Regions from separate parts of the Homo sapiens genome. Here regions 1, 2, 3, 4, 5 and 6 are each linked to region 7. The links are contacts of gene promoters, found by promoter capture Hi-C in blood cells and fetal thymus (Javierre and others, 2016). All regions are on one chromosome and are shown on one strand. The core of a region is centred on a gene start or on the middle of the fragment in contact, and the rest is flanking DNA. Distances in the headings are between cores, read along the strand shown.

Region 1 (3,347 bases), core at 309-2,808, 1.8 Mb after region 7:
TGACAATTCTGTTTCATAGTAAGTGCTCAACAAGTAATTAGCCTTTATCAATATCTATTTTAAGTGGCATGGATAGAGTAACATTTCTTGCTGATCATTTTTTGTCATGCAGCATATTACATTCATGTTTTCTCAACATTATATTAAACGGTTTTCATACACAACTATGTATGTTTTTCTATTGTAAAAACTTCCTAAAACAAACATCAGCTGAAATTTCCTAATTTAAATGACCAATTTCTTGATCCTGCTTAGGTTAAACAGATCTGCATAAAGATACAGAAAAGTGATTGAACAGTCAAGAGGTAGCAGCAAACCCTAAGAAAAAGGAAGGTCAAAGAACTGAATTATATACAAGTTACCTGATCAGCTCCTAAATAATAGAAAATTTACTGTTTATCCAAAAGGACAGCAGTCCTATTTACCTAAATTATGCCAAGAGTGACTTCAGAGAGGAATTAGCTTTCACTTCTACAAAGATCTAACCCATGAGTTTGTAACTTTAATATTCTGACTTCATGTCAAAGGAGAAAAATCTCAACTCAATTATCCTACCAGAAAACACAAATTGGTTGACATTGGCAGACTACAACAACACCATGAAAATTGTAACTGCAGAGAAAAGACAAAACAAAAAAACCTCTGGAAGTCAGAACACTTGAGATTCATATCCTCATAACTTGGAAGGTTATTCTTTTGTTTGGACAAAGAATACTGGAGTTTTTTAAATGTTTGTACTTCAACTCATCCATACTTATGATATAATCCCCAAAAAGCAGCCAGCAACCCAAACCTTTAAGGCTGCCAACCAGGAAAAATAACTTAGCACAACAATGATCTTTTCTAACCATAAATAATGGTATCTTGGGCCAAGCTTCCTAGATAGACTTGGATTGAAACAGCTCTTTACCCTAGGGCTATTAACTGTATAACATGGATATTGAGAGGAAAAAGGCAAAAAGAAAAAATGCAAAGGAATAAAATTAATTCTTAAAATACCTCAAATTTTGAATAAATGGGGACATGGACTTCTTGAATGGTAGTTCTGTGAATTAAGACAAGCCATTTCTTGGTATGTGTGCAGAAATCCTAGAAGTTGTGGGATGCTTGAAATTATGTTTATGACTCCAAAACTCAAGTGTGCATGTCAAATATAGGTTGTAGGGACAGATCTCAACTAATCTCTGTATGGTATTTGGCTCTAACACCAAAATAATAGGACCTAAAAGAGAAACAACATTAAAGTCCTACCATCCAAAACCCAAACAATTTTGTAACTAGGATACTAATAAAAGAATAACTGGAGCCTCTAGAGTTCCAGTAGCTCAGTTTGGTTAGAGGCTACTTCAAAGGATATTAAAAATGCCCGAAACCAATAGAGTGGGAAAGTTGGCTTGAGGGCCCTAAGAAAATGCATAGAACAGAATTCTGATTCAGTGGGGCTCCTGATGAGGTAGCAGAGGAATAAATACAACCCACTTCAAGTTAAGATGAAGCCTAGGTGCCCATTTTAAATTGCCCTAAAATAGAGCTGAAAGGTCTTCTGCCTGTGCAATTGCCATGTTGAAGACCTTTGTTCTGCCTGCAGGAGGTTGTAATCTGGTCCTGCTATTCTGACTCCTTTTGACTAAAAACAAATGACATGTAAACAAATACAGCTTCCATGTTACACTGGCATGATTTTAATGTCATATTTACCAATCTCATATGAGCTATTTGCCTAAGATTCAATTAGACTTTAAGAAATCGTATTATATCGTTGACTTGTCCCAAGCTCATGACTGACAAAAAACCTCTTGTCCTTTTCATGTAAATTAATGTTAAGGCACATCTTGTCTGCTGCATATGCTGAATCTTTAGATTCATTGTAGCACTTTACGTTAATTGCTATTACATTTCATCTTGTTAAACCTGGTCACTTATTTTACCTGCGTCTGATCTCGATTCTGCCCTCCAATATATTAGCTAAAGTTCCAAAGTCCATGTTAACTATTTGTTTCCTATGGCCACCAACAGTGTTGAGTAGGTATAATCTCAAACATTTGCTGCATGTAACCAGCTACTTCCTGACTGTCAAAAATATTGATTGCTTTTCTTAGATACAAACTATCAGTCAAAACTTTACAAATTCTCCTGAATACATTATCATCCTGACATTTTTCTTTTTGTCCACAAAGATATTCTCTCCATATCTGTCTGATAAACTAGTTTCTGATATACATTTTCCTAATCAATCAGCCTAGAAGCTTTATTCAATAAAGAAATTTGGAAAATTTGAAAAGCCTTGTTCTACATGATTTAATAATAACCCACTGCAAGCGCTTCAGCTTTCTCAAAGAGTTCAAAAGATACCTTCTAATTAACCTGTTAGAGCATTTTGTTCCAAATGGACAATCAAGTTCCTCAATCTGTATCAAAATATTTTTATCAGTTCAGAATTTTGATAACCATTTTAGCAGCATTTGCCCATTTCTCATTTTTCAGCACCTTTATCTTCATCCCAGGCATTTTAAAAGTGCCAAAAGAAGTGAAGAAGCTCATTGCCACATTTTCTGTTCAAGAGGAAAGGTAGAAACCAAAGAGAACTATTTGAGTATGAAATTCCCTTCCATATTCATATACCCTGGACTCAACATTGCAATATAATGAAAAATTAAAATGGGTTAGACTTGAAGATTTGGGGTATACTTCTAACAAAAGAGAAATAGGTAATGAGACATCTCATGCTTAGCCCAAAGGATACCATTATTTTCCACAATCCACTAACCAAATATCTCCATATCAGATAAGGTAAGTCCTCTAACCTAGTTATTCATCTTCAGTATTGCCTGGGCTATCTTTGGTCTCTTGCCTTTCACACAAATTTTAGAATTATCCTAACAATATAGTTACACATACATATGTGCAAGCACATAAAAAAGTGCTAGAATTTTTATTGGGATGGCACTGAACCTAAATCAATTTGGGGAGAATTGAAATACTGAAGAGATTATAGCTTTCTATTTATTAGATCCTTTTTAAATTTTTCTCAATAATGTGTTGTAGTTTTCTGTATAGAGGTTTTGCACAACTTTTAATAGACTTATTCCTGGTATTCAGTATTTTTATATTATTGTTCATGGTATTATTTTTAACTTTTAATCTTTCATTTGTTTTTTTCTAGAGTGTAAAATAAAACTGATCAAGCTGAAATACAATGACTTTGCTAAACTCACAAATCAATTCTCATAATTTATCACTTAATTTTTGGATTTTTCTACCTAAAACTTAATATCATCTGTGAATAATTATAATTTTGTTAATCTTTATAGTTTTTACTTCTTTTTATTGCCTTCTGGAAATGATAA
Region 2 (3,020 bases), core at 443-2,942, 1.9 Mb after region 7:
CACGGACAAAGTCACAGGTTAATTGTTCTATATTTGACGTAACTCTAAGTTCTCGTAAGAAATCTCAAACCTGTCTCTAAATCTCCTCTGTTTTCATCTAAAGATTTTGTTAGTGTATATCTTTGAGCATTCAGAAGTAGACAGTTGCAACTACAAATTCATTTCATCTGTTCCACAATGGTTTGGTTACATTGAAGGATTATTTAACGACTCTATAACATCCTAGTTATATTTTCTGAGAAATTTATGGTCCTTATCGGGCCTCAATCAAATGTCATTCATGTCTTATTTCACATGTAGTTAGAAGGGGAGTGTGTGTAAAATATGGCCATGAGGTGACTCTTGCAGTATCTTTACTCATCTTGGAAACAGAAAAAATGAGCTAGTTTCATAAACTTAATTTCTTTACCTCTTCAGTTTTCTCTACCTGAAATATTGAGGCTTCTCTTTAACTCATCTTTTAAAGCACAGAATTTCCTAAACTTTTTAAAAATTAAATGACTTTTCCTGATTTTGCAGTTTTCTTTTCCCTTCATGAACGTTATCACTGCAGAAAAAGCAACGCTTGTACTTTCAAGACTATAAAATAAGCCCAGTTTATAAAATTATTATTTGGAGGCTAAATATGGAATTTCAGATACTCACTCTGAACCACAAAAAAACTGAAATTAGCATTATTCTTGGTAGCTGTATTCTCTGCTACTGTATTTCCTTATTGTTCTATGTACTGTGCTCTACTTTTGAAACTCCCAGTCAGTAGGAAACTGCTCTATGCTCTCAGATAAATATACTCTGGTGAATGAAATGTAATGGACCCTTTGAAAAAGTAAATACTTAATGTACACAAAGAAGGTGGAAATGACATTTGGATTCTCTAAAGTCTAGCAGTTCTCAAACTTTCTGGCCTCAACATCCCTTTACACTCTCAAAAGTGAAGGGCCTCAAAGTTCATGTGGATTGTGTGTACTGATATTTCTAATATTAGAAAATTACATTGAGAATGTTTAAATATTTATTAGTTTTAAAACGACAATAAACACATTAAAGGTTAGCACAAACAACATCTTAATGAAAATTTACTATATTTTCCAAATCACAAAACTTAGAAGAGTTGCACAATTTTAATTTTTTTTTTTTTTTTTGAGATGAAGTCTCACTCTGTCACCCAGTGTGGAGTACGGTGGCATGATCTCAGCTCACTGCAACCTCCGCGTCCCCCATTCAAGTGATCCTCCCACCTCAGCCTCCCAAGTAGCTGGAGTTACAAGCATGCGCCACCAGACTGGGCTAATTTTTGTATTTTTTGTATAGACGGGATTTCACCATGTTGGCCAGGCTGGTCTCGAACTCCTTGCCTCAAGTAATCCACCTGCCTCGGCCTCCCAAAGTTCTGTTATTACAGGCATGAGCCACCACACTCGATGTAAATATTTTTATCTCTTTAACATACACCCTAGTAGAAGGCAGCTAGACTCACCAGAGAATTGCCTGCTTGTAAATAGTTTTTCTACTACATTTAGTTAAAATGCTCTTCTCAATAAACTATCCTACTATATATATATATAAACACACACACACTGTATCCCTACATAAAGCTGAGGGTTACCGAGAATAAGTCAAATGTATTCATTAATGTCAATAATGAATTGGGTGGGAGTGGATTTAGACAGAAAAGAAATAAAAACAAAGGGTATATGTATATCAAATCATCACACTGTACACCTTGAATATATACAATCTTTATTGTCAATTAAATATTGTTTTAAAAAATAAAGGACCAGAAGCTGAATATAGTTATAGAATGCAGCAAATGATGAAAACAAAAGTGGGAGCAAAGAACAAGCCTGAGATGATCGGTGTGAACTTGGCTAGGAGGATTCCAGATTGCTGGATCTGCTGCTAATTGGGAAGCATGGGTGAAAAAAGCAATTACTTTAAAAACAAGCCCATGGCCAAAAGTTTTCAGGACCCATATTTTCAAAATTCCAGATTCCATGATTTTTAATCATGTTTAAATAACATTAATGCATGTTAATATCTTCTTGACACAATGTTTTTATGGTTTAAATAAAATGAGGAACTTTAATGTAGTCAAAAAAAAAAACTGTTCTACCATATGAAACTTACATGTGGAAACTTAAAGATCTTTTGAAAATCAGGTTTTATTTTTACTGGTTTCTCCTACTATTAATCCTTTTTTGCCTCCTGCCAAAGAGTATTCTTTGTCTTCTTCCACTCATTATGTTATTCATGCTTATGTAGTAAATGATTATAATTTATCTTACAATTTCCATTAAGTTGTTCTTGGATCACAATCCCCAGGGTATGGTTATAATCCCAGGGATGAAAGGAAATGGCAAATAAGATATCATGTGGGCACAGGTTAAACAGGTACAACAATTAATTCCAAGCATATGTACAGAAGGATAGCTATGACAGTTGTCAACAATGGTTATGACCAAGGAAAAATAGAAAGTATTATGGTGTGGTTTGAAAGATATTTGTCCTTAGGAAAGCTATTAACAAAAATAATGCTAGGTAATAGCAAAAAAGGGTGTTAAAAGTAAATCATACAAGTCTGTCATTCTTTATTCAAAACGGATTCATACCATACCTAGAACACTGTGAGCAACTGTGACCTCTATAAAGGCATAGCCAAACTGGATGAAATCCAAGAAGATTAACTAAAATGCTTAAAAGAATGGAGTGGTTTCTCAAAAATGAGAGATTAAAAAAAGGAAAGGTTATATGTGTAAATGAAGACTGTCTTAGTTCAGGTAGCTATAACAAAATACCAAAGACAGAGTGGCTTATAAACAACTTAGTTCTCAGTATCCTGGAGGCTGGAAGTCAGGGTGACAGTATGGTCTGGTCCTGGTGAGGGCCTTCTTCCAGGTTGCAGACTGTCATCAACTTGTTCTATCCTCACATGGTGAAAAGAGCTGGGGAGTTCTTTGGGGTCCCTTCTATAAGGGCACTAATCCCACTTATGAGGGCTCCACCCTAGTGACCTAATCGCC
Region 3 (3,029 bases), core at 310-2,809, 1.9 Mb after region 7:
CAAAGTCCAGAAAAGAAATGGATATACAGGTCTTGAGCTGAGGAGAATTTAAAACGTGTGTGTGTGTGTACATAAAATATTGAAATATACACACATGTGTAAAAGTATCACTATGTAAATCGTAAGCTTTAGCCATAGCCATGAATGATAGATTGATAGAAAGAATGTAAAGGAGACAAAGGGAGAACTATCCAAGTGTCAGAAGAAAAACCCAGAATGAGGCTCCATGGAAGTCAAAAAATAATGCTTTTTTTCCCCCAACAATGTCAAATTCTTCTGAGAAGTTCAACAAGAAAGACAGTAAAAGGTACCTGAATTTAAGGTCCTAAAAGGTCATTGTTGACAATAACATGAGTTGTTTCAGTGGAGTGATGGGTACTGAAGCCAGATTATAAAAGATTAAATAAATGGTGAGTGAGAGAGAAGAAAATGGAGACTAAGTGTACACAACCCTTTCAAGTTGTTATTTAAGAGAAAATAAATTAGAGAGCAAAGTGAAGTAAATGGAGGATTTTATTAAGATGGGCGTGACTGTTAAAATGCCATTGGAAAGGATTCAGTAGAGTGGTGGAAATTGGAGAGGTGAGGGTAAAAAAAAAAGAGGGAAGACAAAATATGCAATGGCCTTTAACAGAAATTGGCAGAAAAGGATCCTGCAGAGGAGTTATAGGTTTTAACCCCTTAAGTTCTTAAAGGGAATGGGTCCCTTTTTAATTCAAGGAATGGGGAGAAAAGTCTAGCAGACAGGCAGCGTCAAGAAGAATTTGTAGACTTCTGGGAGTTTCAATGGCAATGCCTCAAGCCTGGGAACAGGGTAAGCAGCCCTAATTAGGATTTCTTCTCAAAACTTGAAGCATGAAGAAAACATGAAAGAATCTCTTGTGCCTTCTATAGGCAACCCAGCTGAAGTCAAGACATCTTTTAACATTAAGAGTGGATGCCACAGAGCCAGTGGCTTATCTGCCTGATGAATCAGTTGCACCAGCCCAGAATGAGGTGCAATTCAAAAAATTCTTGCCCCACTAGTAGGCTGCTGTGTATAATCCTATTCTGAGAGAGGCCCACGCAAGTGTGGTGAGAGTAGGAGAAAGGCTGTGGACTGTGGTTGTATTAGTCATGGGTCTCTAGAGGAACAGGACTAATAGCATAGATGTATATATGAAGGGGAGTTTATTAAGGAGTATTGACTCACACGATCACAAGGTGAAGTCCCACAATGGGCCATCTGCAAGCTGAGGAGAAGGAAGCCAGTCTGAGTCCCAAAACCTCAAAAGTAGGGAAGCCGACAGTGCAGCCTTCAGTCTGTGGCTAAAGGCCTGAGAGTCCCTGGCAAACCACTGGTGTAAGTCCAAGAGTCCAAAAGCTGAAGAACTTGGAGTCCAATGTTCAAGGGCAGGAAGCATCCAGCACGGGAGAAGGATGAAGGCTGGAAGACTCAGGCAATCTAGTCCTTCCACGTTCTTCTGCCTGCTTTTATCCTAGCTGCTCTGGCAGCTGATTAGATGGTACCCTCCCAGATTGAGGGTGGGCCTGCCTCTCCCAGGCCACTGACTCAAAAGTTAATCTCCTTTGGCAACACCCTCACAGACACACCCAGAACAATACTTTATTCATTCTTCAATCCAATCAAGTTGACACTCAATATTAACCATCACAGTGGTTATTCTATGTATTATTGAACATGTTTTTCACTAAAATGTGTTCATTCAGTTTTCCTTAAGCATTAAGTAATCCATTAGAATGTTTTTGATGCAAGTCACAGACTATCCAATTTGAAGTAGTTCAAACACTAAGAAGGCTTATGATATGGCAATGAAGCAGCAAAGCAATATCATCAAGAACCCTTGTGCCTTCTCTATTTCAGTTTTGTCATCTTTAGAATGTCATGTGACCTCTTTACAGTCCAAACATGGTATTGGCAGCATCAGCCAACAACTGCAGACACAAAAATACCCAGCAAAGAGAAGGTGAATTTCTTCCTGTATCTCAATTGCTATTAGCAAGGAAGTTTCCAGAAGCTCCCAAAATTGACTTCTCCTCAGGTCTTATTGGCTAGATGTAGTCACATGCCCATCCCTAAATCAATGTCTACAAAGGAAATGAGTCCACCATGATTGCCTTAGCCCAAACATAATTCACTCTCTGGGGTCCAGAGAGGTTGTCACTTACCCTGAACTCATGACAAGGTGACACCAGGATGAAATCAAGTCTCTGCCCTCAAGGAAAAGGGGATGAAATGGCTTAGGATAGACCAGCAACTGTCACAGCAGAATTAAAGAACACGTTTGGCAAGAGGAGGAGATCTGGTCACAAATGAAGGACCTTTGTTGTTAGAATAAAAAACATTCTTGTCCTCCAAAAGATTAAAGATAAGGTCATCAAACAGTGTTTGATTTCAGAGATATCTTCAAAGCCTAGCTAGTGAATTCATTTATTTATTAAACAAAGTTAATGGGATATTTGTATCTATGAGACATCAATAAAGTTCTAAAGAAAATTTCCTAAATTTAAATAACAGATTTACTTATAAGCAAGTCTTCCAAAATCCCATGAGAACCTTTACTTTAAAAAATAAATGTTTACCCTTGAAAACATTCTCAGTAGTAGAAAAGAATTGTCATAAATTTTTTGGTGTTACATTTTTAATTGACAAATATACATATTTATGGTGGACAACATGATGTTGTGAAATTTGTATACAATGAGAAATGGCTCAGCTTTTATATAACCACACTCACCTCTTTACCCCACCCATTTGTACACTCCCAGCAACTATTAGGCTATCCTCCAATTCTAAAATTTTGTCAAAATGTTATATAAGTGGGATCATACAGTATTTAACCTTTAGGGGTTGGCTTTTTTCTATCAGCCTAATTCCCTGGAGATTCATCCAAGTTGTCGAATGTATGAGTCTTCCATTTCTTTTTATTGCTGGGTAGTATTCCATGGTATGGATGTGTCATGGTTTAACTATTCGTTTGCTGAAGGCAAACCAAGCTTTTATACACATTCATCAACATGTTTTTATA
Region 4 (2,881 bases), core at 126-2,625, 2.0 Mb after region 7:
AGGAAGAAATCACTCCTATCTGAAGTGGTCAGATACTACCTTTGATTTCCTCTCATATCTTGCAAAAGACTTCATGTTCTCTTTGAAAAGTGTGTGTGTATGAGTTTGTTATTGTTTTAAAAATTACATATTTATATAGCACCCATGCAAGAAACAGTTTTTACAGATAGCACATAATTTCATTTGTCTTCAATTCATCTACTGTAATGTAATTAGAAGAAAAACGTATTAGTATTCCAATTATAGATAAAGCAAAAGATTAGTACTCCGCCTGAGATCACACAACAAATTCATTCTAAAATTCTGACTTCACTGGAGTTGCTTCCCAGAAATAAAAAAAGAGAGAGAGAGATAGAGAGTCTTTGAACAGTCCTAGTTGAAATGTAGCCTATTCAATACTAAAAATTATTCAAATAAGTAGTCCATCCACACTCCATAATGGACAGTCTTCCTCTTGGCTTTTTTGTTGTTGTTATTATAAAGAAGGGAATATCCTAAAGGGTCAATAATCCTCCTTCTATTTCTCCATTTTTCTGTCTCCATAAGGCAACATCACTGAATGTATTAATGGGCTTGCTCAGTTAGGGTTTTTAATCCCTCCCAGTTTGCCCAGAATGTTCTCAGTTTTAGTACTGAAAGTCCTGTGCCCAGTTAACCCGTCTTGGGCAAACCTGGACAGTCCCTATCAGCAGTGGAAATAAACACTGCTTTGAAGATCTATGCAGGAATGGGAGTTTAAGGTTAGTTAGGAAGATCAGCCAGGCCAGCAATGGGCAGGGAGTGGGACAATCTAAAGATCCATGAAGGTGGGCAGACTTGGCTTCAGGCTTTGAAGTCTAGCTGGGAAGGCACAGTGCATGACCCAGGGAAGGGGCTCTCAAACTTGAGTGTGTATTACAACCCCCTGGAGGGCTTGTTAGAACACAAATTGCTGGGCACCACCTCCAGAGTTCCTGATTCAGTAGGTCTGGAGAGGGGCCTAGAATTTGCATTTCTAACACATTCCCATGTAATGCTGATGCTGTTGGTCCCAGGATCACGCCTTGAGAACCACTGCTCTAGGTGCTAGTCTAGACTTTCAGCTGAGCATAAGTAATAGGTGTGAAGGTGATGTCTTGGCACTAGGGAGCTAGCAGGCCACATTAGGCAGAGATATGAGCTAGGGACCAAAGGCAGGACTCAAAGCACTGAGCAAATGTGAGCTAACATGGCAGGACCAGGCTAAGAGGATCTGGAGTACTAGGCAGATAAACAAAACAGGAGCTCCATCTTAAAGAAGTATGACCAAGATCTTTCTACTGGATGTGGGTGCAAGGTGTGGTGTTGGCCTTAGGAACAAGGCAAAATTCAATGCGTAAGCAATCATTGAGGAGCACAGACTTAATGGTCAGTCACTGGAGTTCCTGAATTAGGAATTTTAAAGATCCCCTGACAACCATAAAAGTTGGGTGACCAACTATTCTAGTTTTCCCAGGAATTTCCCTACTTCAGCACTGAAAGTGCAGGGCCTAGAAACCCCTCAGTCCTAAGACATCTGGTCACCCTAATTGTGCTCTTAGAAGACTACAGCCTAGATCCACCTACATCTCTGGGTCAGTTGGCTCCAGCCATAAGGAAAGAAAGCACACATGAGAAGAGGAGGAGCCAGCTGGAAAACGAGGCAGAGAGCCAGGATGCTCATTGCAACCTATAGCCTTCAAGAGAGGATAAAAGGGCACCCAGAAATATTGTCTATAAATGCTGAAATGCATTTGCTTTAAATGGGCAAAACACGTTAAATGACTCCTCAGGCCTGCAGCTTTTCTAAACTCATGAAAGTGGAAAAGTTCAGCACAAACAGAACCATCCAGACACCCCGTAGATGGAAGTCTCTCTCACTGCCTTTTGACAGTCATCACACACACTTAAGATCTCATTGTAAGTATAGCCTTAAAGAGCCCTGATAAGTACACATCAGTAGGGGAACTAAAACCCATCTGTAAATATTAGCAGAGTCTCCCATGTTCTTTTGGTTTCCTTCACACACAAAAATAAGCTAAGTGGAATGAACACACAGTTCAAAATGACTAAAACACTAAAGGACATTTAAATCTGGGGAAAGAATCTCTCTGTTGGGAATATGGATTTCACCTAAGATCCTTAGTGTCATTCCCAGCATGCCAGAGTTATTTCAAATCTCTTTCATAACCAAATATTAATATTCCACCAGAATGGGGAGCATGAGGGCCACTATTGACAGGAACACAGCCTACTAATCATGAGAGATGTTTAAGATGTTCTTCACTAACGTTATCCACAGACTGTATAAAAATAATAACAGAAAACGTTTAACAGTAACAAGGATCATCACCAGGGAAAGTACCTAAACCATCACAAAATCCGAAAGCAAACACTGAACTAATCCATCCTCCCAGCAACTAACTCCTGCAAAATGCTGCTTATGTAGAAATAATCTTCTCAATCACACTTAAAATATTCACTATGATAATGAACTTTAGCCGCAGTGAATTGAGTGTCCCAATGTGCTGAGTCTTCATGATCAAGGAGAACCTGGCATAACCAGCATCTTCAAAATGCAAGTACCCTATGTCCTTCTGGAATGAGCCATGTCATCCAGTAAGTAGGCTGAAACAGAGGGATCCGACGAGGAGACTCTCCCAGAGCTGAAGTGGGAGTTCAGAGCAGAGTGGAGAAGATTGAAAATCTCCCAGATAACCTGGGAGAAAATGCCAGAAGAAACAGGAATTTGCCCATCCATTCAATCTTTCATTCAACAGATAGTTATGATGTGCCATCTCAATGCCAGACCCCATGCTAGGCAGAAAGGCTACAAAGTCTAATGGAACTGCTTTATAGGTATTTGTAATCAAATAGAACAAGC
Region 5 (2,873 bases), core at 319-2,818, 1.8 Mb after region 7:
CCGTGCACATAATTATTCTCAAACACTAAGTAACTTCTCTGGCTTCTTCAGCCAAATGCAGCTTTAATTCTTTAAAATCTGGAATGTTGTCAGCTAGGAAGGAATGTCAATGCAGGCAAATGACACATTTTTTAAACTGAAGTTTTCACTGGACCAATTCATCCATCTGAATTTCCCTCCAAATGCACTAGGCTAAACGGAAAAACAAACTTCATTAGTAATACCTTGAAATTCACTTTTATAATCCTTTATGACACCTAATTTCGAGTCTGTCATTACGGTTTGGGAATTCAATTGAAATCCATTTCCTTCTGCATAAAGACTACAAGGTAATAGTTCAACCTGACATGATGCAACCATCCTGTGACTGTGACTTTCATCATTTTAGACATAAGGGATATTATACTGCAGGGATTTTCATCATTTGGGATTTCATCATTTGAGATTACGGCATTCAGGATTGTGTCTTTCAGAATTATGATCCAAACCTGACATCAACACGTGAATGGGGGATGCACAATCCCACCCATAGTACTTGGGAACTCCAGTGGACCATGGGCTCACTTGAGCTCCAAGCTCCTGGGTCGAACATCCAACTGCCCTTCCTCACCTTGATGACCAAGTACCTGTGAGATCAGCTCTATTCTACAAGGAATGGTTATGCACACTTAGATTTCTAGTGGCCACCAAAAAGATTTAAATGGTGTAAAAAGTAAACAAAGTCAGACACTAGTTAAAGAGGTAAAGACAGATTTTCATCAGTAATGTACTATTGCAATAGGGAAATGAGTTCTGCATGAACCGAAGTCAACTTCAATTTGTGGAGAGGTGACTGGTGTTTTAAAGGGAGAATGAGAGAGTTGGGAGGGGGCAGGTATTAGAGTCAGGGAAGTAAAAAAAACCTACAAAAAACAGAAATAGGGAATCGGTTCATGTGAAGTATCTCAGGATGCAAGACTTCAGAATATAGTTAGTGATCATAAAAGTCAGCTCTTAGGGGCTACCTCTATGCAATTGCCTTGCCATATGTTTTCCATATGTTAGATTTTCCTTTTTTAAGTCTTTTTCACTATTTTAAATTGTTGGCATTATTTTGTACAATACACTATGATATGTATTTCATCTTTTCAACTGATCATGAGCCTTTATGTCCCAAAAGCCAGTATACCAGAAAGGACAGGAAGTTGAAGTTGAAGAACAGCAAGACTTTCATCAGAAAGTCACAAAGAGCCACAGTGATGACTCCCTCTTTTTTAAACTTTAGCTAAAGGCTGTGGTAAAGTGGAAAAGGAAAAATATATTAAGAAAGCAGAAGATTTAAGACCCCACTGACTCTCAAACCAAAACAAAGCCCATCGTTGCAAACTTACAGAAGCCAGTTTGGTTATGCACACTTAGATTTCTAGTGGTCACCAAAAAGGTTGAAATGGTGTCAAGAATAAACAAAGCCGGATGCTAAAGAGGTAAGGACAGATTTTCATCAGTAATGTACTATTGCAATAAGGAAACATGTTCTGTATAAACTGAACTCAGCTTCAATTTGGAGGGAGGTGACTGTTGTTTTAAAGGGAGAATGAGAGAGTAGGGAGGGGGCAGGTATTAGAGTCAGGGAAGTAAAAAATTACAAAAAAAACAGAAACAGGGAATTGGTTCATGTAAAATCCACACAACTTTGCTAACTGGAGCTTATCAGAGTTAGGCTCCTTCCCTCCCACAGAGGCTGGGAGACAGGGTCCCTGTATTCAGGTGTTGGCTGAAACAAACAGTACATCCTTGTGACAGCCTTGAGTGTTCTCAGGCAAGCATTTTATATGTGGGTCTAGGGTCATTCTTAGGAACACTACTTTGAGCTATTAGAAACTATATTAGTGAGTGTTCAAGTCTTTATATGCCAGGCTGAGGCCTAGTCAAGAAGAGGGCTCCAAAGAGCCTGGCTAGAGTTTGGTGAAGGAGAGAATCTGTTATAGTGAAAATTTACTACTCTCCCACACCTCACCATTAGGTTTTTTGTTTTTTGTTTTTTTGTTTTTGTTGTTGTTGTTGTTGCTGTTTGTTTTTTGAGATGGCGTTGTGCTCTTGTTGCCCAGGCTGGAGTGCAATGGCGCAATCTCAGCTCACCACAACCTCTGCCTCCCAGGTTCAAGCGACTCTCCTGCCTCAGCCTCCCAAGTAGCTGGGATTACTGGCACCCACCACTGTGCCCGGCTAATTTTTGTATTTTTAGTAGACATGGGGTTTCACTGTGTTGGCCAGGCTGGTCTCGAACTCCTGACCTCGTGATCCTCCCACCTCAGCCTCCCAAAGTGCTGCAATTACAGGAGTGAGCCACCACACCTGGCCACCATTAGGTTTTAATAAAAACAAATCTCAGCATAAATTTCTTTATATAGACAGACATGTAGTAGCAACTATTCATTAGCAAGAAAGCATAAAAGAGTTTATACTATTTGTTCTGTGTGCTGGATGAACGCTTTTTAGGTGGCCCAGGGATGAAACATTCAGTTGAAATAGACACTGTGAGATTTCCAAGGCAGGATTCTGTGCTTACACAGCACCATGCAGTCAGAAATTCTCCTAAGTCAACATCTGGATTGAAGGGAATCAAACCATGACTGTCATCCTTAAAAATATCAGGTCAGGCCTTCGTGCATTTTTATACTCTTTTTAAAAAGGATGGAGAGACTCTGAACTATTTTAGCCAATCCATATGTTCAAAATATGTTTAATTTCATCAGTGAGAGCCAAAGCCTATTTCTAACATCCATCAGGCTAATCAACAAACACTAGATTCAGCAATGGAAACCCAAATTTGGAATTGATATGCTAGTTCATAGAGTATCAGAGGTTGAACAAAAGGATATAATAAAGGGCAT
Region 6 (2,960 bases), core at 134-2,633, 1.9 Mb after region 7:
TCTTGGTTTTGATGTCCCCCAAATACAGATTCTGAGATAGAAGCTGGGTGCAGGTAGTTTATTTGGGAGATAACCTCAGAAAGCACAGGTAGGGCAATGGAGAAAGTGAGACTAGGAAGGGAGGTAAACTAAAAGGGATACATTCATGAGACAGGTAATCACTGCAGACAACTGAGCTGCAAACTCAGAGTGAATACTGGGAGGAAACACATGGAGGGAACTTGATGAAATCTCAGGCATTTCTCCCCCTTAGCCTTCTCCTAACCACACATCAACAGCTTTCCAGGGATACCAGACAAGAGTGAGGGCTTAGGTGCTGCCAACTCTCAGACTGAACTCTGCAAGTTCTATCATGTCCTGACTCAGACCCCAGTTACTGTCAGAAGCAATGCTCTCTGCCATCCGCAGTCCAGATTCTCAATCTCATTTCAAGTCTTGCTTTTAAATAATTCTGGATGATTTTTATAATTTGGTCTTCAATTTGTCTATTTTTACTCATCTATTCCCTAAAATAATTTCAAAAGACATTGTACCCCCTAGCACATTATTAGGTTGACATCTATAGGCTTTCTTGGTCATCAGTTTAAGTAGTTGCTAAAAGTGACTTCCAGTAAATTGTAAATATTGAAAGTCTAAAATAAAATTGTTACTCAGATCCTTCAAATGTTTCCAGTGGAATTTAAATTCCAAAGAAATGGGATACTCATCACTGTTCACTTAACGATATAAATGTACATGCTTATCTTGTTTTATAATGTTCCTTAAAGTCATATTTCCATTCCATTTTCCCCACAGAACTTTATTCTAATACAATAATATACTTGAAATAATTTAACTAAATTTAACTAAATAAGAATTTAACTAATTATTAACATAATTCACCACAGAAAAGGGTATAAATTAACATTTTTTAAAAAAGGTCCTTTGACTATATAGGTTCAAATGTATATTTTTAAGTTTTATTTGGGGAATTACCATACTATGTTTTACTTAGTTCACAACTGATCAAAACAATACAAATATATTTTAAATATTAATAAATAAACTTAAAAATTTAAATTTTAATGGAAAATCATCTCAATGAAATGGGCGGGACTGGTCTGATTTTTCTAATTAGTTAATCTCTCCATGAATGAATACTATTTATCAATAGAATGAGACAGAGGTTAATATCAATGTTGTTCTTTGTTTAAAAAATAGCACTGAAAAGACTTGTCCAAAAAGAATTTATTTAAGTAGTTGAAAATAGAATCGATTTTATTATAGCAGTGTCTTTCACTTCTTTGAGATTTTTTAGAGTTACATCCTAAACATAGCATAGTAGTCTACCGTCAAAGATTATTTTCAGGCCAGGCACAGTGGCTCATGCCCGTAATCCCAGCACTTTGGGAGGCCAAGGCCTGTGGATCACTTGAGGTCAGGAGTTCGAGACCAGCCTGGCCAACATGTCAAAACCCCATCTCTACTAAAAATACAAAAATTAGCCGGGAGTGGTGGTGGGTGCCTGTAATCCCAGCTACTTGGGAGGATGAGGCATGAGAATCCTTGCACCACTGCAGTCCAGCCTGGGCAACAGAGTAGGACCCTATCTAAAAAAAAAAAAAAAAAATTATTTAGAATATCCTAAGTAGGTTTTCAAACTTTATTCTGAGCAAAGAATAAAAAATCATTGTAAAAGAATGTGGTCCCCAGTTATCAGATCAATTAGTTTTCTCAATATCAGTACTAGTTCACAGGGTCCCTTTGCTTGGGTTTTTCCACCATAGCAAGATAAGGAGTGAATCAAAGGATGGAAGTAGGAACATGAAAAGGGCAAGTGTGGGGAGAAAAAATAAGCAAGAAACTCTGCAAGTCATAAGGGTGCCTATGGAGAGATGAGTCTGAGAAAAGCAAATATAGGGGATTTGAGGATCTGGAGGTTGATTTTGTTGACACTGTCTCAGTCCCCACGTATTCCCTTGGGAAGGAGATGCATCCCCAGGACACCCACACATTTACATACACTTCAGTGGCTTTGGAATAATTGTATGGTCCCAAAGTCTTTCTTAGTTTTGCCTTATGAAATTCAAAGCCCAAGCGTTTGAAACCCAAAAACTAAGAATCAACTCTTTGGTTTGGTTACATCATCCTCAGGAGAAGTTAGTAAAACCTAATGCCCAGGCAGCTGCCTGGAAAGGAGGGAAGGATAGAGGACAAATAGTTTCTAGCAACAAAAAATACATTAGCTAACCTTTCAAAGTTGCACCCTGCGTGCTCAAAATAACAAAGGAGCCACATCCATTATGGATGCTATAGAATTCATGAAGTGCAATCATTTGATTTGGGCCTTTAGTTTGTAGATTTAAGATTTATTGGAGAAGAAAAGAAGTGCATATAATAGATTAATTTGTGGGGATGTTAAAAATGCCTGTGCATGGACTTATTAGATAACCTGCAATGCGTAGGTAAATTTGATGTTCAAATAGGACCACTTGTTTATAAGCCTGATTTCTTTGGGAAGAAAATCAATTCAGACCAGACCTGTTTCATTCAAGTAAGCCTGAGGGCTTGCTTGAAATAAACTGATAAATTCTTCTGTTCCCAATTAAAAAAATAGGGCCAATATCCCTCATTTTAAAAATGCTTCTGTTTTTCATGAAGTGTGTGTATGCATACACATAATAATCTGAAGCAGTCTGCTGCTATTTAATTATAGCAATACATGTGACAATGGAAACAGAGATTGGAGCGATTCAGGGCCATGAGCCAAGGAATGCAGGGTGCAATTTTAGCCCAGTGAGGCCCATTTCAGACTTGGGACCTCCAGAACTAGAAAATAATAAATTTGTGTTGTCTTAAACTCTAAGTTTGTGGTAATTTGCTACAGTGGCAATAGGAAACTAATTCAGTGCCCTAATAAAATGACATGCCTTTACAAATTAACTATGTAGACACATCCCATAATCATCCTACATTAAAAG
Region 7 (3,124 bases), core at 28-2,527:
CCTGCCAGCAGGAGTCTACCCTGAAGTCGCGTGGGATAGATAAAGTGAGGAGAGGAGGATGAATGGACAGACAAACGAGAGCAATTCTTCTACCTGTGGGCTGTCCTACGCCTTGCAGTGCCGGGTCCTGCGGCGACCACTGAGCCCCTTCGTCCTCGCCCTCAGTCCCTTCGTCCTCGTCTTCGGTCTCCGCTTTCCCAGTCGGCCGGGGCTCGTCGTCCACGACCCCGCACGTGCCGCCGACGTCGCCCTGCCGATTCCGCCGCAGGAGGTGGAACTGTAGTGGTGCCGGCGGCTTCTCCCCTGGGGCGGCGGTGGCGAGGCGCTCGCTGGCGGCGGGCAGCGGCTGGATGAAATACGCCTCCCCCAGCAGGTAGAAGGCGCCGCGCACGCCCTCGCAGAGGCTGAGGGCGGCAGCCGAGCTGGGATCGCCATTCACGGTGCCGGAGTAGAAGCAGTGCGCCAGGTCGGTTTCCGGAAGCGGCGTCTCGGACCCGGATTTGCGCCCCACGTTCTGGAGCGTGAAGCCGGGCGCCAAAAAGCTGCTGTCGGGCCGCAGCTCCAGATCCAGCTGCTGGTCAAAGGCGTGCAGGCGGAGGCGCGTGGTCCCGTGTCCCGGGGCGCGCTCCAGCTCCGGCACCACTAGCTCCTCGTCCTCCTCGGAGGGGCGCCCGAGTGCGTCCGACACGGCCAGTAGCGCCGCGGCGAGCAGCAGCAGCGTGGGTACTGGCCCAAAGCTCCGAGACCCCGGAGCCCGCTCCGCGTTCCCCATGTCGCTGCCCAGCTTGCGCCTTCCGAACCCCTCGGGCACAGCTCGCTGCATTGGAGCCCCAGGAGACACCGCTCGTAGCAGCGCACGGAGCGAGGGACCTTTAGTTCGGGTCGGGAGAGCAAAGCCTCGTTGGCCTGCTCTGGATTGTTAAAATTAACAATTTCTATTATTCGTTGGAAGGGCGCGCAGAGCCGGCTACAGCCGAAGCTCCCGGAGTCACTAAAAGGAGGCGCTGCAGTTCTGCCGGCGCGCGGGAAGTTTTTCTTCCAGCGCAAAGTTGGAGACACTGAGAGGCAGGCGCAGGCAGAGTGGCTCTGCTGGGACAAGAAGCGCTCTGGGGCGCCTCCGGGGCTGAGGCAACGCGGAGATTGGTGCCTGGCGCCCCTCTTCGGCCTCCGCCTTGGCTGCGATGTTGCTCACTCTGCTCAGGGCTCTCCCCTCTCCGTCCGGTAGCGCACCCTGGCTTTGCAATAGCCCCTGGCTCGGAGCCGCTTTCCAGCGAGTGCAAGAACCGGGCAGCCGAGCGGTCCTTTTATAGTGGACCAGTGAAACCCCCACCCCCACCCCACTCCTCCCCTTTGGCCCTTTTCCATCCCAAAGACGCCGCCCCCGGCTCCGTTGGTGCTAAACCGCGCTCCGCGCTGCGGGCTCGGGAGGGGGAGGGGGCAGCCTCCGCGCTGGCTCCACGCCACTGCTCGTCAATCTAGGGGCGGAAGGGGCGCTGTGACCAGCACTTTGTACTGCTGGGGCCGCTCCAGGGAGAAGACTCTCCCTTCCACCGCTTTTCTCCCTCGCCGGTTTCCTGGACCACCCTTCCTCCCCACCGCCCGGTTGCGGTAACTCAGTTACCGCGCTGGGCTGCGGTTCCCAGGAGGGAGGGTTCGGTTGGAGAACGCAGTCCCTTCTTCAACATTTCCCTATCCTGGAGCTGCCCTGGGTCTCCTTCCCTCCTCCCTCAGTTCCCTCTTCCCCAATCTAGGAGATGAGCTAGGGCTACACTTTCTAGAAAAATACCTCACCCCACTTCTCCACCTTCCCAGCCTGCCAGGAGCTCCTTAGCCGCCGCCTGCTCTCTCTTCGCCCCAGCTTTTCTAGGGAAAGCTTGGCCCTGCGCTTCCCCCAGAAAGCATGCCTGGGTGAGGGGCCAGGTGACACTTCCTACGATCTGGATTTTAAAATATGTTTGCTTATGCCTTCACCCTCCACCAACCCCCACCCCGCACGCCACCTCTTCACCAGAGACGACTTTGTGAGGGCCCGGTTTCACATTTCTGGAATGGGTGATCTGGGACGCGGCTCAATTCCCTAGAGCATAAGGAGGGAATTGCGCTTTTTCTTCTTCATTCGAGAAATGATCGGCTCCCGCCAGTCTGCGTGCTTTCACTCAACAGCAGCTGCAAGCCCTAGGCCAGCGTCGCAGAAACGGCCAGGAACCCCACTTTCCTACCCGGGGGCCAGCAGCGATCGCTGGGGCTAGCAAGCGTGCAGAGGGGGAAAGAAGGAAATCGGCTTCCTTCCCGGACCCCTCCTTCCTCTTCCTACCAGGAAGGGAAAAGGCTATATCCGCGTTACGAAAGCGAGGAGAGGTCCACCAACAGGTCCTTAGGAAAAAAAACTGAGTGGCTCTTCTCTCCAAAAAGTGGGAGGGGCTCAAGGACCCAGAGGAAGGACGTGTTTCACAGGCGGAAAGCCGCGGGGACAATGGCGAGAGCGACCGCCCTAGCCCCGGGCGGACCCGCAACCCTCACACTCGCGCGCCCCCGCGTTAGTGCTCGAACTGGTCTCCGCCTTTCCGCCCCACTCCCGTCCGGTCTCTTGGTTGGCTCCAAGTAGATCTGGGTCCTTTCCTCGCTCCTCCCCAGATCTTCCCCACTTCAGTTGGCCCCAGCCAGAAGCGTCCCTTCTAGTTCTCCCACACGTCCCTCTTACAAGCTTTCTTTTCCGGATGCTTTCCAACTTCTTTTTTCCTAGCGAGATTGCTTACTTGAAAAACAAAAACAAAAACATTGCTTTCCACTCATCAGGAAAAATCAAATGAGCAAGAATGGCAGAGAGAAGCAACTCAGCTTACTTCTGAAGGGCTTAGTAACGACCTCTAGTCCCTACACATTTAGGAGTGGGTGGTTTCGTAGATTTAATTTTGGTTTCCTAAAATCACCCTCATCGTTGAACGTTGAATAATCAACCAAGGCCTTAGATATATTTTGACAGCGCTCGATTAACATTCTGATAGTGTTTCTGCCTACCTCTTTTCACTGAGTCTCTCCTTTGCAGCCCTCGCTGTCTCTCCCCCCCTCCCGCCGTTGCATTTCTCCTTCAAACTCAACATTGACATCCGCACACCTGAGTGTG

What was found. Contacts are between HindIII fragments. The CHiCAGO score rates a contact against its expected background, and 5 or more counts as called.
Region 1: a contact is called between a fragment that was not itself captured here and the fragment with the promoter of ADAMTS1 in region 7, in 3 of 17 cell types (total B cells, activated CD4 T cells and total CD4 T cells). The highest score is 6.7, in total B cells.
Region 2: a contact is called between a fragment that was not itself captured here and the fragment with the promoter of ADAMTS1 in region 7, in 3 of 17 cell types (naive B cells, naive CD4 T cells and monocytes). The highest score is 7.0, in naive B cells.
Region 3: a fragment that was not itself captured here is called in contact with the fragment with the promoter of ADAMTS1 in region 7 in 10 of 17 cell types (erythroblasts, total B cells, fetal thymus and 7 more); the score reaches 13.7 in erythroblasts.
Region 4: a fragment that was not itself captured here is called in contact with the fragment with the promoter of ADAMTS1 in region 7 in 1 of 17 cell types (fetal thymus); the score reaches 5.7 in fetal thymus.
Region 5: a contact is called between a fragment that was not itself captured here and the fragment with the promoter of ADAMTS1 in region 7, in 2 of 17 cell types (non-activated CD4 T cells and erythroblasts). The highest score is 6.0, in non-activated CD4 T cells.
Region 6: a contact is called between a fragment that was not itself captured here and the fragment with the promoter of ADAMTS1 in region 7, in 16 of 17 cell types (activated CD4 T cells, total B cells, megakaryocytes and 13 more). The highest score is 16.6, in activated CD4 T cells.

The regions. Positions count from the first base shown.
Region 1 is chr21:28,656,960-28,660,306 of GRCh38, forward strand. It overlaps a transcript of HEMK2 not described here. Among named protein-coding and RNA genes, the nearest start is that of LINC00161, 120 kb to the left of the region's middle. The HindIII fragment of the contact is 1,372 bases long and covers 873-2,244 here.
Region 2 is chr21:28,706,132-28,709,151 of GRCh38, forward strand. It overlaps a transcript of HEMK2 not described here. Among named protein-coding and RNA genes, the nearest start is that of LINC00161, 170 kb to the left of the region's middle. The HindIII fragment of the contact is 7,731 bases long and covers 1-3,020 here.
Region 3 is chr21:28,775,382-28,778,410 of GRCh38, forward strand. It overlaps a transcript of HEMK2 not described here. Among named protein-coding and RNA genes, the nearest start is that of HEMK2, 110 kb to the right of the region's middle. The HindIII fragment of the contact is 2,871 bases long and covers 125-2,995 here.
Region 4 is chr21:28,824,314-28,827,194 of GRCh38, forward strand. It overlaps a transcript of HEMK2 not described here. Among named protein-coding and RNA genes, the nearest start is that of HEMK2, 60 kb to the right of the region's middle. The HindIII fragment of the contact is 3,338 bases long and covers 1-2,881 here.
Region 5 is chr21:28,684,193-28,687,065 of GRCh38, forward strand. It overlaps a transcript of HEMK2 not described here. Among named protein-coding and RNA genes, the nearest start is that of LINC00161, 150 kb to the left of the region's middle. The HindIII fragment of the contact is 3,700 bases long and covers 1-2,873 here.
Region 6 is chr21:28,725,279-28,728,238 of GRCh38, forward strand. It overlaps a transcript of HEMK2 not described here. Among named protein-coding and RNA genes, the nearest start is that of HEMK2, 160 kb to the right of the region's middle. The HindIII fragment of the contact is 4,683 bases long and covers 1-2,960 here.
Region 7 is chr21:26,844,132-26,847,255 of GRCh38, forward strand. ADAMTS1 (ADAM metallopeptidase with thrombospondin type 1 motif 1) reads right to left here and starts at 1,278. Exons shown (of 9, transcript NM_006988.5): 1 at 94-1,278. The coding sequence starts at 823. RefSeq lists enhancers at 1,462-2,062, 2,063-2,662. The HindIII fragment of the contact is 3,865 bases long and covers 1-1,871 here.